Regions from separate parts of the Homo sapiens genome. Here all the other regions are linked to region 1. Evidence: promoter capture Hi-C in 16 types of primary human blood cells and fetal thymus (Javierre and others, 2016). All regions are on one chromosome and are shown on one strand. The core of a region is centred on a gene start or on the middle of the fragment in contact, and the rest is flanking DNA. Distances in the headings are between cores, read along the strand shown.

The links. The method cuts DNA at HindIII sites, captures the fragments that hold promoters and counts their contacts. A CHiCAGO score of 5 or more calls a contact.
Region 2: a fragment that was not itself captured here is called in contact with the fragment with the promoter of MMP13 in region 1 in 1 of 17 cell types (endothelial precursors); the score reaches 5.3 in endothelial precursors.
Region 3: a contact is called between a fragment that was not itself captured here and the fragment with the promoter of MMP13 in region 1, in 1 of 17 cell types (monocytes). The highest score is 5.1, in monocytes.

The regions. Positions count from the first base shown.
Region 1 is chr11:102,954,482-102,959,388 of GRCh38, forward strand. MMP13 (matrix metallopeptidase 13) reads right to left here and starts at 1,251. Exons shown (of 10, transcript NM_002427.4): 1 at 1,105-1,251; 2 at 771-1,012; 3 at 1-125. The coding sequence starts at 1,224. RefSeq lists an enhancer at 684-1,883. The HindIII fragment of the contact is 7,221 bases long and covers 1-1,757 here.
Region 2 is chr11:102,747,604-102,752,510 of GRCh38, forward strand. No RefSeq gene overlaps it. Among named protein-coding and RNA genes, the nearest start is that of MMP8, 25 kb to the left of the region's middle. RefSeq lists enhancers at 1-165, 4,870-4,907. The HindIII fragment of the contact is 646 bases long and covers 2,549-3,194 here.
Region 3 is chr11:102,772,761-102,777,667 of GRCh38, forward strand. It overlaps MMP10 (matrix metallopeptidase 10), which reads right to left. Exons shown (of 10, transcript NM_002425.3): 5 at 3,852-4,016; 6 at 3,520-3,664; 7 at 2,428-2,561; 8 at 87-246. Among named protein-coding and RNA genes, the nearest start is that of MMP10, 5.4 kb to the right of the region's middle. The HindIII fragment of the contact is 2,467 bases long and covers 1,325-3,791 here.

The DNA.
Region 1 (4,907 bases), core at 1-2,500:
TGTCAGCAATGCCATCGTGAAGTCTGGTAAAATTCAGAGGAGTTACATCGGACCAAACTTTGAAGGCTTTTTTGAATGCCTTTTCGACTTCAGAATGAGTCATATCAGGGGTGTAATTCACAATTCTATTTAACAGAGAAAGTTTCAATGAACTTTTTGGAAAGTGACAGCTATTTTAGAATACATTTTCTTGGTATATTGCTTTTCAATTCAAAATGCAATAATTTCTTTGAAAGTTCTACTAGAGGTTTATTGTTTCAAATAATGTATTAATTATGATGCCATACAAGAATAAAAAGTCAAAAATTCAGCCACATTTGAGTATCTCCAAATATCTGACCATGTGGCATCTTAAATTTAAAATATTCCAATGTTTAATATAATTTATTTTGCATGCTAAAAGTTTAGATTACATTGATAAAGCTCAAATAAATGAAATAGCTCTGTAAAGTTTCTAGAAAGAGTGGAACTCTTCATCTTGAGCACTGTTGTAATAAATACACCTAATGTACTATGTTTGCAAATTTTCTTTAACCTACTTTTATTTCTCTTTTGATTTCATCTCTAAAAGAAATACTTTGAGATGCCCACTAAAAAATAATGCTGAGTTAATGTAACAATAATAGATGTTATGAGGTATTCTCGGCAACCATATTAAAGCTATTCTGGAATTTAACTGCCAATTAAATAATAAGGCCTACTTAATATTAGACATTTAATACTACAAGAAAAGGCTAACAAATATGAAAGAAAGATAGCCTATGATTTACCTGTAGGTTAAATTCATTTTGGACCATTTAAGAGTTCGAGGGAAAACATTGTATTCACCCACATCAGGAACCCCGCATCTTGGCTTTTTCATGACATCTAAGGTGTTATCGTCAAGTTTGCCAGTCACCTCTAAGCCGAAGAAAGACTGCATTTCTCGGAGCCTCTCAGTCATGGAGCTTGCTGCATTCTCCTTCAGGATTCCCGCGAGATTTGTAGGATGGTAGTATGATCTCAGGTAGCGCTAGAAAAGACACCAAAATGAACTGCGTTTAAAAGAGAAGGACATTTCTGAGATGTACCAACCGCATCATCAGGATTGGCAAGATACTCTACCTCTGCAAACTGGAGGTCTTCCTCAGACAAATCATCTTCATCACCACCACTGGGAAGGGGCAGGGCCCGACAATGAGTCCAGCTCAAGAAGAGGAAGGCAGCCAGGACCCCTGGATGCATCTTGAATGGTGATGCCTGGGGACTGTTGTCTTTCCGCAGAGATTACCTTTACTTTTATAGGCCTGCAATGGTGAGTCATCACTTATGGATAGGTTTCCACTTCCCAGTCACTTGAAGGTAAACATGCTTACGTGGCGACTTTTTCTTTTCCCTCCCGAGTGTGGTTTGTGGTAGAATTTGAGGGAAATATAAATGAGAGCATCTCTTGTTTCAGCAGGGTCTCAAAACCCATCTGGCAAAATAAACGGCCTCAGCATATTTATGGATACTGTGGGAAGAAGCAGAGAGTAGTACATTTTTTACTTCACTTAGCAAAATTTTTTTTTTTTTGCCTTCTGTAAGAACGTATCTACTTTTGCTTCTTCGAATAATAAGTGTATCAAGATGGCATGTTTACTTCCATAAAGAGAAACTTAGTACTGATTCTAGAATGTTTACTACTGCCTGGTAAATTATAAACTGCATTTTCTCTAGAATAACTACAGAGAGATGTCTTGTGTCTACCTGAAGTTCACGATATTGGACCAAAACCAAGCTTGATGACTTGGAGGTGCTACGGCACAACCGCAGGATTGAGCCCCATGGTTGGAATTTAAACACACTGGCATGACCTCTCGACAAATATGGAGTCCTGCATAAATTCCCTACAGATTCAGACAGAGGTAGAAGAATTACATTGGAACGGAACAACTGTAATGGCTAGCACAAACAGGGATTACTGCATTCTAGGTTTAAAAGGCATTATCTCATTTAATCCTTACAACAGCCACATAGGTGCTGTCAGAAAGCTTGTTTTCCATTTTACATATGAATAATCTGATACACTGAGAAGTTAAATACTTGTATACGGTCATATAGTTTATAAATGATACCAGGATTTGAACCTAGGCCAATAACTCAAAACTCAATGTTCTTGACCACCGTCCCTGTCTAATTATGACCTCCACCCTTTCCATTCTCAGATATTTTCTTAAAAGCTGAGCTGTTTGGTTCCTACACCTCAGGGAGTGCCCAAGAAAACTAGGGCTGCAGTAGGCCAATTTCAAGTTTCTCAATTTTTAAGTTTGAATAATAGAAGTAATCTTGGTCCAACCATCAGGAAAATAGTCCTAGGGGCCTCTACCCTATTATTCCTTTCAGAACATCACACATTCAGTACCGTGAAATCAAAGTGCCATCTTTGGTCCCCTGCAGAAGTAAATGGGTAGAGCAATATAGGCCATGATCTTTGGATTTATTGGACTTCTTTAAATAAATGATTGGAAATGCAGGTTAATTTGAGTGACTAAGAGTCAGAAAGAAAATGCTGCTCAGGTCAGGAACATAGTAAGACAAAGAGAAGGAGCATGAATACAGCTTTAGGGTGAGTACGAAATGGGTATCCTAACATATGAGTAAAATCCTATAATCTAGAGTAGCCAGTGCCTTAGAGAAAAATCAGAAAAGCCTACAACATGTATGTGATCATTTGAGGGAAATTTACTATATGCCTTTATCCAAACAAAATACAGCCAAATATACCCTTTCAAATAGATTGTTTCCAGTGAGTTCAAGATTAGATTGGTGCTCAATCAGGAATGCAAAGCAATAATTTATTTTAAGTTGCTTCCATGTATCATAATATTTAATTTTGAGATTAAGTGAAAAATTATCCAAAAAAGTTTGATTCATCGACTAAGCTTATAAAAGTTAGTTTATTAGAAAGCATTTGTTTTTACAAATAAATTTTCATAATATATTAAAATCTCATTAGATAAGAAGTGCTTAAGAAGCTGGAAAACAAATAACATTTTATTAAACATTTGAAAGTGGAGAAAAAGAATCAAATAGGCTAACTGTTCTTATAGATTTTCACATATTTGTAGAAATGTTACTACTTCAAACTAGAAGAAAAGAAGCTTTTTTATCTATCAATTTAATGAATATATTAATTGAGCATCAACCATATAGGATACCATGCTAGTGTCTATGGAAATGAAATGAAGGCTAAAATGAGGGCCTTTTTCTGAGGATCATTACAATATTACCTCCCCCATTAAAAAAAACATTTTTAATAACAAATGAAAATAAATACATGCCACTATTTTTCAACTTTAAAAATAAAGTTTATTATCAAACAACTTTAGTATTTTACTAGTTTCTCATTCCATTTAAGAACATAATCAGCGCAAAAGAAAAAACACAGAAAGGTTAATGAGAACATATTATTATATGTTCTGTAGTTTTCTTAAGTAGAAATAAATAAAAATTCCTCCAAAGATTAAAATACATTAATTCATTAAGAAAATAATCAGACTGCTCGTTTATAGAATATTGTTCAGGGAAAAGTGTTTTTAGATGGTGATAGGGATGTGTCATCACATCATAATGTGTTGGCAAACTGCTTGTCAACGCAAGTCCTTATATCAGGTTGTTAACTGTTAAAGTCAAGCCTTCTGGTTACCACTGTGAAATGATTTGTGGTTTCAGATGTCATCTTTAACACAATAGGGCTGAGCTGGTATTTAAAAATGGTTCTAACAAGTCTACCAAATCACTGGGAAATTTGAAAACCTGTAGAATGAACAAACAAAACTGGACTAAATTAGAATTATGTATTTACTGCTGATTCAGACATTAGCAATATGGGACTTTTTAAAACATAGGTCATCATCAGTTTTCAAGTTCAAAACGTCACCCAAACAGGAACGAAAAATGTCTATGAACAGCCAGATACTAAATCACAGAGGGGTCCCAGACTAGGAATAACATGAACAATTGGCCATTTGAGTTAGATTAAAATTATGAAAAATCTTTAAGTAAAAGAACGATTAAGATCAAGATTTTGGCTTCAGTTTAGAGTATAGTAAAAACTCATTGTCGATGACACTTAGCGGTGTGTTTATTTTTCTAAAATGTAAGTGATTTGACTCTGCAAGTGCACGAAGTAATAATTTTTTGTAAACACTCTCTGATGGTTGCTTAGTTCTACCTTCCGATTTCTCTTTTTTTTTCATAACCTCATGAGCTGGGCTTACATGGTCTTAAAAAGGAGAACTAGCTGGGCATAGGGCATGTCTATAGTCCCAGCTACTCAGGAGGCTGAGGTTGGAGGATTGCTTGAGCCCAGGGGTGAAGTTTGAGGACAGCCTAGGGCAGACAGGGAGGCGCCATTAAAAAAAAAAAAAAAGGAAAGCTAGATTTCTTCTAAATTTGAATTTAAACACTACTTTTGTGCAGTCATGGCATCATCCACAGGTGTGGAACAAAACAAAGAAGAGCTCATTTTACATGCTGTGGCTACAAAGCAAAGGTTGAGTAACTTAGGAGGTCATTTACTTTTAACATTTGAATGATATGCTCTTCAGAGATGCCATACTCATACTGGGTTGATCCACAAAAGTTACTAAAAGAATTTACAAGAAGTAAAATAAATTATTTTTGGTTCTTACTGGAGTATAACATCTGAAAGTCAAGTCCTAATTTCCTGGGCTCCCCTCCTAAAGAATTTTATTTTTTTGTGTGTTTGGTTGAAAAAGAGTGGTTACTGAATGTCCACCTTGGCCAGATTTAACCAAATACTCTAAGAGAAAACAACTGGGAATAGAACACACATTCTAGCCCAACCCTTCCCAAATGTCTTTGAAAAAGGAAAAATCTAGATTGCTTGGTAGTGAATAATAGAAATAAAAACAAGTTAGGAA
Region 2 (4,907 bases), core at 1,622-4,121, 210 kb before region 1:
GAGGTGAAGTGTGTTTCTTGTAAGCAATAGATCATTGGGTCTTATTGTTTAATCCATTCTGAATCTTTGGACTGGAAACTTTGGTTCATTTATATTTAGTGTTATTATTGATAAGTAAGGACTTACTCTTGCCATTTTGTCATTTGTTTTCTGGTCTTCTCTTCCTTCTTTTGTTCTTTCCTGTCTTCCTTTTCGTAAAGATAATTTTCTCAAGTTGTATGTTTTAAATTCTTGCTTTTGATTTTTTTGTATATCTGTTGTATGGTTTTTGATTTGAGGTTATCATGAGGCTTGCAAATAATATCTTATAGTTCAGTATTTTAAACTGATGACAACTTAACACTAATTGTATAAACCAGCAAAAATATAACTAATAAAAACTGTACATTTTAACCTCATCTCTCCACTTTTTAACTTTTTGTTGTTTATATTTATATCTTATTATACTATGTCTTGAAAAGTTGTTGTAGTTATTATTTTTCAAAGGTTCATCTTTTAGTCTTTCTATGCCTTGCATAGAAAGTTTACATACTACAGTTATAGTATTATAATATTCTGTGTTTTTTTTGTTTACTTACTATTACCCCTGAATTGTGTACCTTTGGATTATTTCTTATTGCTCATTAACATCCTTCTTTTTAAGATTGAAGAAATCCATTTAGCATTTATTATAGGACAGGTTTGGTGCTTATGTAATCCCACAGCTTTTGTTTGTCTGGGAAAGTCTTTATTTCTCCATGTTTGAAGGGTATTTTCCCTAGATATACTATTCTAGGATAATTTTTTTTCCTTCAGCACTTTAAATATGTCACGCTACTCTCTCCTGGTCTTTAAGATTTCCACTGAGAAGTGTGCTGCCAGACATATTGGAGCTCCTTTGCATGTTGTTTCTTTTTTCTTGTTGCTTTTAGGATCCTGTCTTTATCCTTGTCCTTTCAGATACTGATTACTAAATGCCTTGAGGTAGTCTTATTTGGGTTAAATCTGCTTGGTGTTTTATAACCTTCTTGTACTTGATATCTTTCTCTAGGTTTGGGAAATTCTCTGTTATTATCCATTTGAATAAACTTTCTACTCTAATCTCTCTCTCTCTACCTTCTCTTTACAGTCAATAACTCTTTCATTTACCCTTTTGAGGTTATTTTCTAGATCTTGTACGTATGCTTTTCTCTTTTGTCTCCTCTGACTGTGTATTTTCAAATAGCTTGTCTTCAAACTCACTATTTCTTCAGCTTGATCAATTGTGCTGTTAAGAGACTCTGATGCATTCTTCAGCATGTCAATTGCATTTTTTAGTTTCAGAATGTTTGCTTGATTCCACGTAATTATTTCAATGTCTTTGTTAAATTTATTTGATAGGATTCTGAATTCCTTCTCCATGTTATCCTGGATTTTGATGAGCTTCCTCAAAAGAGCAATTTTAAATTCTTTGTCTGAAAGGTCACATATCTCTGTCTCTCCAGGATTGGTCTGTGGTGCCTTATTTAGTTTGTTTGGTGAAGTAGTGTTTTTCTGGGTGATCCTGATGCTTACAGATGTTCATCAGTGTCTGGGCATTGAAGAGTTAGGTATTTATCATAGTCTTTTTAGTCTGGACTTGTTTGTACCTGTCCTTTTTGGGAAGGCTTTCCAGGTATTCCAAGCAACTTGGTTGTTATGATCTAAGTCTTTGGTCACAGCAGCCATATGTGCTTTAGGGGGCACCCCAAGCCCAGTAAACCTGTGGCTCTTGTAGACCCACAGATGTACCAGCTTGGTAGTCTTAGGTAAGATCTAGAGGAATTCCCTGGATGACCAGGCAGAGACTCTTCTTCTCTTTCCTGACTTCCCCCCCACCCCCCTACCCACCAAATTGAGTCTCTCTCTCTCTCTCTCTCTCTCTTCCTCCATAAGAGCTGACTGAATTCTGCCTGGTGTTGCAACACTAATGACAGGGCAACACTAAGTTCCAATGCAAAGTCTCACAATCACTGTACACTCCCTCTTCCCCTAGTGCAGATTCTCTCTTCATGCCATATGATCACTGCAGGGGGATAGGAGAGGGCTGGTGTAGGTCATTCAAGACTGTCTTTCCTACCCTTTTCAGTGCCTCTTTCCTTAATATGATGTTAAAACCAGGTAGTGTGATTGCTCACCCGATTTTGGGTTCTTATGGAGTTGCTTTTTTGTGTGAATAGTTGTTCAATTTTGTGTTCTTGCGGGGGTGTGAGGACAACTATTGGAAGCTTCTATTCAACTATCTTGCTCTGCTTCCCCTGAAGACTATTTGTAATAGCCCCAAATTGGAAACTACTTATATGTCCTTCAACATAGACTGGAGAGATAAATTGTGGGAAATTATTCACTCAATGGAAACTCTACAGCAAAGAGAATAAATGATCAAAAATTACATAAAAATATATTGATGAATCTCATAAATATAATGTTGAGTGACAGAAGTCAGATACTAAGGTATATAATGTATAATTCCATTTATTTTAAGTACTGAAAGAGATAAAGCTAATCTATGGTATTAGATTAGAAGTTAGGATAGTAGTTACCCTTAGAAAGCTTAGTACCTGGAGAAGGGATTTGGGGATACTGGCAATTTTCTTTTGTGTGCTGGTTACTTGGTTGTGTTGTGAAGAGTCATCAGCTATATACTTATGATACATGGCTTTTCTGTATTCATATTATATGTTGATAAAAGTTACCTTTTTAAAATATATATACTAAATCTCACTCTACTGCCCAGGCTGGAGTGCAGTGGCGCGATCTTGGTTCACTACAACCTTCACCTCCTGGGTTCAAGTGATTCTTGTGACTCAGCCTCCCAAGTAGCTGGGATTACAGGTGCCTGCCACCACACCCGGCTAATTTGTGTATTTTTTGTTAGTAGAGATGGGGTTTCATCATTTTGGCCAGGCTGGTCTTGAACTCCTGACCTCAAGTGATCTATCTGCCTCAGCTTCCCAAAGTGCTGGGATTACAGGCGTGAGGCACTGTGCCCAGCCACTTTATTTTTTATACGAAGTTTAAGTGTCTGTTTTCTTTAATATGTGACAGTGTTGCCATGTACATGTAAGGATGATACAGTTTTACGCTGTTTTTTCTTTGTTGAAACTGAGGGCTGTTATTGTCTTGGGTGGATTGAGATATGCATCCCATATGTGCAGCTGCTCAGGTTAAAGTCAGAGTCTTGGACTCTAGTAAAAAGCTTTTTTCTGTGAAAACCTAAGGATGACCTTGATTGACAACCCTTAGTACTTGCTTAAAACTAACTTATATAAGTTCATGAAGCAATATATTCTAGCTAACATAGAATATGTTCAGATTGAAGTTAAATAAGATTGTATTTCTATGTCTCTGCCTTGTGTTACCAAGAGACTGAAATAAAATACTGAAATACCTGGTTTCTTAGAAAAGAACATATTTTGGGCTCATTAAAAATACTTTTTATTTTCTGTTTGGTGATAGTCAACCATCAGTTATTTCTGCACTTGAACCAGATGTTAGCTTTCAGGAGAGTCAAAATTTGCTTCATTTTAGGATTACATTCATACTGCCTTCTTCTACAAAAGAAATAGAAAAAACCTAGAAATAAAAGAAACTAGATAATGATTTTTCACATGAACTCTTGAAAATATCATATTTTTGTGTACACAGTTTACTGTCTTATCTATGTAACACTAAATGTGTAATTTTATGATAGTGAAATGAGGAAATTGAATGGTCTTTACCTTTATTTTTCAAAACAGGTCAATTTTTTTTACTAATTCCGGGGAGGTCATCAATGATTTTGGGATAACCTGCATCCACGGACTGCATATTTTCATCATACCTGGTAACAAAAAATAACTAAAAATATCACATTGTGGTTAATATAAAAACAATAAAAAACACTTAACTTTCATGTAGAACTTTCCATGTACTAATCACTGTCCTAAGTGCTTTTCATATGAAGATTCATTTAATTCTCACAACAAATCTGAGAGGTAGGTACTGTCTGTGCCTCAATTTTGCAAAACCCCGATGGCTGCTTTTAAAAATTATGGGTGGGTACATTGTTGGCATGAAACTATTAAGAAATTTTAACTGGGAGGGAGAGTGGGGCAAACTAGACAAACTCTAAGTTATTCTCAACCATAAAAATCTGATTCAAATTTTCCCTTGGGCTCCATGTTCTGTCCTATCAAGGAGAAATGCTTCATTTTCTCCTTTTTGGATGCCTCTAGTCCCCTTTGTGTGTTCTGCTCTTTATCTCCTTTTCAAATGCAAGCCAACAAGTTCCTTGCCTTGCTAGGCAGCAGTGTGATAACAGGTAGGGGACTGAATGGCTGTGGGCCTGGCTGCATTCATTCTCAGAAAAAAGGAAAGTTTCAGTGAAATTTGAGAAAAATTTTAAAAGGCAACTCTCCTTCCACCAGAGTGATCTGATTTCCCAAGTTTTCTGAGGGTAGGTCTTTACCTCCAATACTCATTGGCAACAAAGAAATGTGTCTTTCCAGTGTCCTTCTCATAAATGGCAGCATCAATTTTCTTCACCCTTTCAGGGAAGACAAAGGAGCTGTAGACGTCCCTGGGGTAGCCACTCAGCAGTTGATCCTCCTGAACGACCCAGTGCTTACTGCCTGTCAACAAAAAATCGGCCATGAAAAGATTTGCCTGGAGTCTAGTAGATATTAGACAGAATTTCCTCCAGACATTTGCTTCACGAGAAGTGGATGGAGAGTTTTATTCCAATGTAAGGTGCACTCGAGAAGACCTTTCTTCTTAGTATAATTGGGTTACTTCTCAAGCTACACAGGTGTGTGTGTGTGTGGTGGGCACCCTGCAGGACTACAAGGGTGGGAGGCAGATGGACACCTTCTGCAGAAGACATATCTGAGCTTTCGACCAGGCTGACTCCAGACAAAGGATTCTGTATT
Region 3 (4,907 bases), core at 1,308-3,807, 180 kb before region 1:
GGGTGTAGGGTAGGGAAATATCCTTAAAGAAAGAAAATAATTTTCTTAATCAGGCTTCATAGAAAGTCATTTCTCTTGCATCTCACCTCCAGTATTTGTCCGCTGCAAAGAAGTATGTTTTCTTCTTTTCCTTGTCAGAAACAGCTGCATCAATTTTCCTTATGGTTGGAGGAAAACCCAGGGTATGGATGCCTCTTGGATAACCTGCTTGTACCTCATTTCCTCTGATGGCCCAGAACTCATTTCCTATTGAAAAAATAAATCCAAGACATTTTACTTGAAGCCATTGATTTTAAAAATAATTATAGTGCATTGTTGTGGTAAAGAGGAAGGCTTGGTTTTAATTCCAACCTAATAATGTCCAGTTCACAGCCAGTCCTTAATAAATACTCCCTGAATGAGCGAGTGAATGAATGAATGAATAAATGAGTAGATAACTCTGATTCACTGCCCTTTCTGTGTCTTATATATTTGTATCTATATGTTATAGTTTATTTATAGATCAGTTTTAGTTATTTCTTATAATTGTTGGTAAACTTTTAACCTGAATTTCTCACCTAGACCTCTCTCTCTTAAGTTTCATACCAATAGATCAGTTGCTTATTGGACACTTCCTTTGAGATATTTCACAGTCACCAATTCCAATCTGTGCTTCTTGTGAACACTATCGGAATTCATTCAAATTCTAGTGAGTTAGGACAATAAAATCCCATCAATCTCTCTGCATTTACTTTGTTACATCACTCTCCCAGACCCCAAGCCTGAATTCCTTCTTCGCACTCACTGCCAGATTCACTAATCTAAAATGTCCATCTGTTGTTTATCTCTCTTGCTTCGTCTGAACCGAATGACTTGTATCTGTCTGAGCAGTTCCAGATATGCTCTTACTTGGTAAAAACAATTTCTTCTTTCTTAAAGACCTTTCTACTTTCTGTACACCCAGCCCATCTCTGCACAACAATAGAGAACTTTAAGACCCATCCTAACATCACCTCCCCTAAGGGATCTTTGCTGAGTCCTGGGTATGAGTCAGGTGCTCCCATGGCACCCTTCCTTCTCTCAGTCCCAGCACTTGTCATATGTAGGCTGCCAAAGGCTTCATCTCTGCTGCCCCTTCTAGAATATGAGCCCTTTTCAGTCCTGACCTCCACCAATGAGAATGGCGTCTGACACAGTGCAAGTGATATGTAAATGTGAGATACATTACTTGATAACAATACGTTAGAGTTATGTAATCCTTTACAATTTCTACTGCAATTTCACATTCATTTGATCTTCACATAAGTGAGATTGCCAGAAATAAATATTTTTAAAATCTCCATAAAGCTTGACATTTAAAAATATTCCATTATCACCTATGAGTCTAGGGAAAAAATAAAAATGAGAAATTAAAGAATTAAAATTGAACAAAATGAAAATACTGCATATCGAAATTTGCTGGATGAAACAGAAGAAATGGTTATTTATAGGTATAAATGCTTGTATTAGAAAAGAAAAAAGTTACAAGTTAATAAGGTAAGTATCAAACTTAAGCTATAACAATAATAACAGGATCAATTCAAAGTAAACAAAAATTAAGGCAACAATAAAGATATGAACAGAAACTAATTAAACGGGAAATCAAAATATAATATAGAGAGTAAATAAAGCCAAAAGTCAGTCCTTTGAAAAGATCAGTAAAATTATTACATATATTATGAGATTGATGAAGAAAAAAGAGAAAGGCAAAAGGATTCAGTATTAAGAATGAAAAAGAAAACAAAACTTCAGCAATAATTCAAATTACAACAAAATAATTTTCCAAAAACTTTTTCTGATGGATTTGAAAACAGACAAAATTGGCAAATTTTTAGAAAAACATGTTAACAAAACTGACTCAAGAAGTAATAGAAACTCTAATAGCATATTACCAATAAAACAAATTGAAACAGTAGTTTAAAAGTCTGATAAAGAAGCCTCTATACCTGAATATCTCCATTAGTTAATTTATCTCTCCCTGCACTGATACTACATCTTACCGATTAAAGTTTTATAACACAGGGCTTTTCTCCTCATCTAATAAGATGGGTTCACCAGGAGCATCCTGGCTATTCTTGGCCTTTCCTCTGCCATATAAATTGTAAAACTAATTTGTCAAGTTCCATGAAAAATCTTTTGGCATTTGGTATTTGAAATGAAAATGTCTTGTATCTATAGATAAATTGACATTTTTACTATCTTGCATTTTTTATGAATATGGAATGCCACCTATTTTCTTAAGAGGTCTCTAAAATAAAGTTTATAATGTTCTTTGTACAAATTTTATTTAAGTGTTAGCACAAGGTCTTTCAGTAATCTAAACTTTAATATAATGGATAAAACTCATGTCAATAAAATTTTTGCAATAGGATTTATTCCAGCAAGTTGAAATTCTTATATAGTACTCACCTTTAAAAATAAAAACGGTGTCCCTGCTGTTAACTTCATATGCAGCATCCAAATATGATGGAAGAGAGGGCCAAAATGCAGAAATCAAATGAAATTCAGGTTCAGGGTTCCAGTGGGATCTTCGCCAAAAATATCTGTAATACATAAAATTACTTGCAATTGTCTTTCTCTTTTAGATATGTGAAAAAAAAATTCTTTTTTTTTAAATCCATGCTAATTCACCCATTCATAGAAGTCTGTATTAAACCATCCTCCTGCATGTGATTCCAGGGTAATGAAATCGATGGCAGGACTTGTGACTGGTTCCAGTAAAATTATTTAGCTTGGTTCCATTCTAAAAGTCCATAAACAGTGTGCATATTATGTCCTAATATTTTAAAAAATATTATGTGTATATTGATGCTTGTATATGAGTAGAACATTTTTGTAAAGAGTCAAAGGAAATTGGTAGCAGTGGTTGCACATATGAAGGGAGCTGGAGGACGGTAGGCCAAAGACTGGAGAGAGATTTTTTAACTCCGTATCTTTTGGTAGTGTTTAAATATTGTGCCACAAGCACATATCACTTTTTTCCAAAAGTAATTAATTTAAATAGTAGCATATATTAGTAAATGGAAAGATACCACCCTGCTTCTAAGGATCCACCAGTGCTTTCTGAAGAAGTTCCATGATATATGATATTTTAAAAAAATGAACGAAACAGATATAACTCCCTGCCTTAATCAAACTTACAGTCTAGGGACCAAGAATCATCCCTTATAAGTCTGTAAAAAATGATCTGGACAATTCTAAGAAGATGTTAAAAATTCAGCAAGAACTAGATCTGAATGATTTTAAAATGTAGAGGAAATTTTATATTTTAAAAAATCTCTGTCAAGCAGAAAAAGTAACTACTGGGTACTAGGATTAGTACTGGGGTGACAAAATTATCTGTACAACAAACCCCTGTGACACGAGTTTATCTATATAACAAACCTGCACATGTACCCCTGAACCTAAAATTAAAAAAAAAGCTCTGTCAAGTTTCTGTTTTTCTTTCTAAGCACTGTACATCAAAAGAATAGATAGGAAAATATAATTTTCTGGTCTGACCTGTCTTTAAAGAACAGATATTCTCCCCTCAGAGTGCTGATGGCATCGAAGGACAAAGCAGGATCACACTTGGCTGGCATCTCAGATCCCGAAGGAACAGATTTTGTGGGCACCAGGGGTTCCTCAGTAGAGGCAGGGGGAGGTCCTAAAGGAAACAGATTTGGGGATGCAAACATTAAAAAAAAATGTGATGCATCTGTCAATTTGTGTGCCTTTCAAACATTCTCAAAGTGCTTCAGGCCAAATCAGAAATACTTTAGGTAGCACTGGAAAGCTTTCTGGAGGACTGTCATTGTAGATCTGCAATGCCTAATTTTTCCAGCATCACTCACCGTAGAGAGACTGAATGCCATTCACATCATCTTGCGAAAGGCGGAACTGGGCGAGCTCTGTGAATGAGTTGTAGAGTGGGTACATCAAAGCTTCAGTGTTGGCTGAGTGAAAGAGCCCCAGGGAGTGGCCAAGTTCATGAGCAGCAACGAGGAATAAATTGGTGCCTGTATGAAAATCATAAATGTTCAGAATTCACCAGCTCTTTCTTCCATAAATACACATACAGAACATATGCCAGCTGTACAGGCCATCCTTGAAACCACAATGTCTTTTCAGTATTTGTGGATTGGTTCATTGATTGGCACATTCCATACTTTATAGAAATTAATGTGTTTTTCAAGGTTGACTTTAAGTCAATATATAAGACAGTTTTTCACCGTATCCCTCCCTAGATCCCTCCTTGGTCAGGAAAACTAAGACACTTTTCCTATATTGACAAATGAGAAGCATTATTTTCAAAAGATTTTTTTTTGAAAGGACAAGACTAATAGCATGTCAGTAAATATAACTCTTCGTTGTCTAAAAATAAAAAGTCATTGTTCAAATTTAGGAACACTTGCCAGTTGCAACCTTGGTTAAAATTAATCATATAACATTTACGTTCAAACTTTTAAGCCAGAAGACTGTGGTTATTTCTTGTGGGGTTTAGTCTGATTTTCTCTTCCTCCTCTTCATCATACTCAAGTAATTTTTTTTTTTGAGACAGAGTCTCATTCTGTCGCCCAGGCTGGAGTATGTGTCCAAGCGATTCTCGTGCCTCAGCCTCCTGAGTAGCTGTGATTACAGGCACGTGCTACCATGCCCGGCTAATTTTTGTATTTTTGTTGAGATAAGGTTTCACCATGTTGGCTAGGCTGGTCTCAAACTCCTGGTCTCAAGTGATTCACCCAACTTGGCCTCCCAAAATGCTGGGATTACAGGCATTAGCCACTGGTGCCTGGCCATAATCAAATAATTTTTGATTGTCAAAAATCTTCCCAGTAATAGGTGCCATTGGATGTGTACAATCTTTAGTTTAAAACAGAAACATGCCCAATAACAGTTTTCTGCAGCAC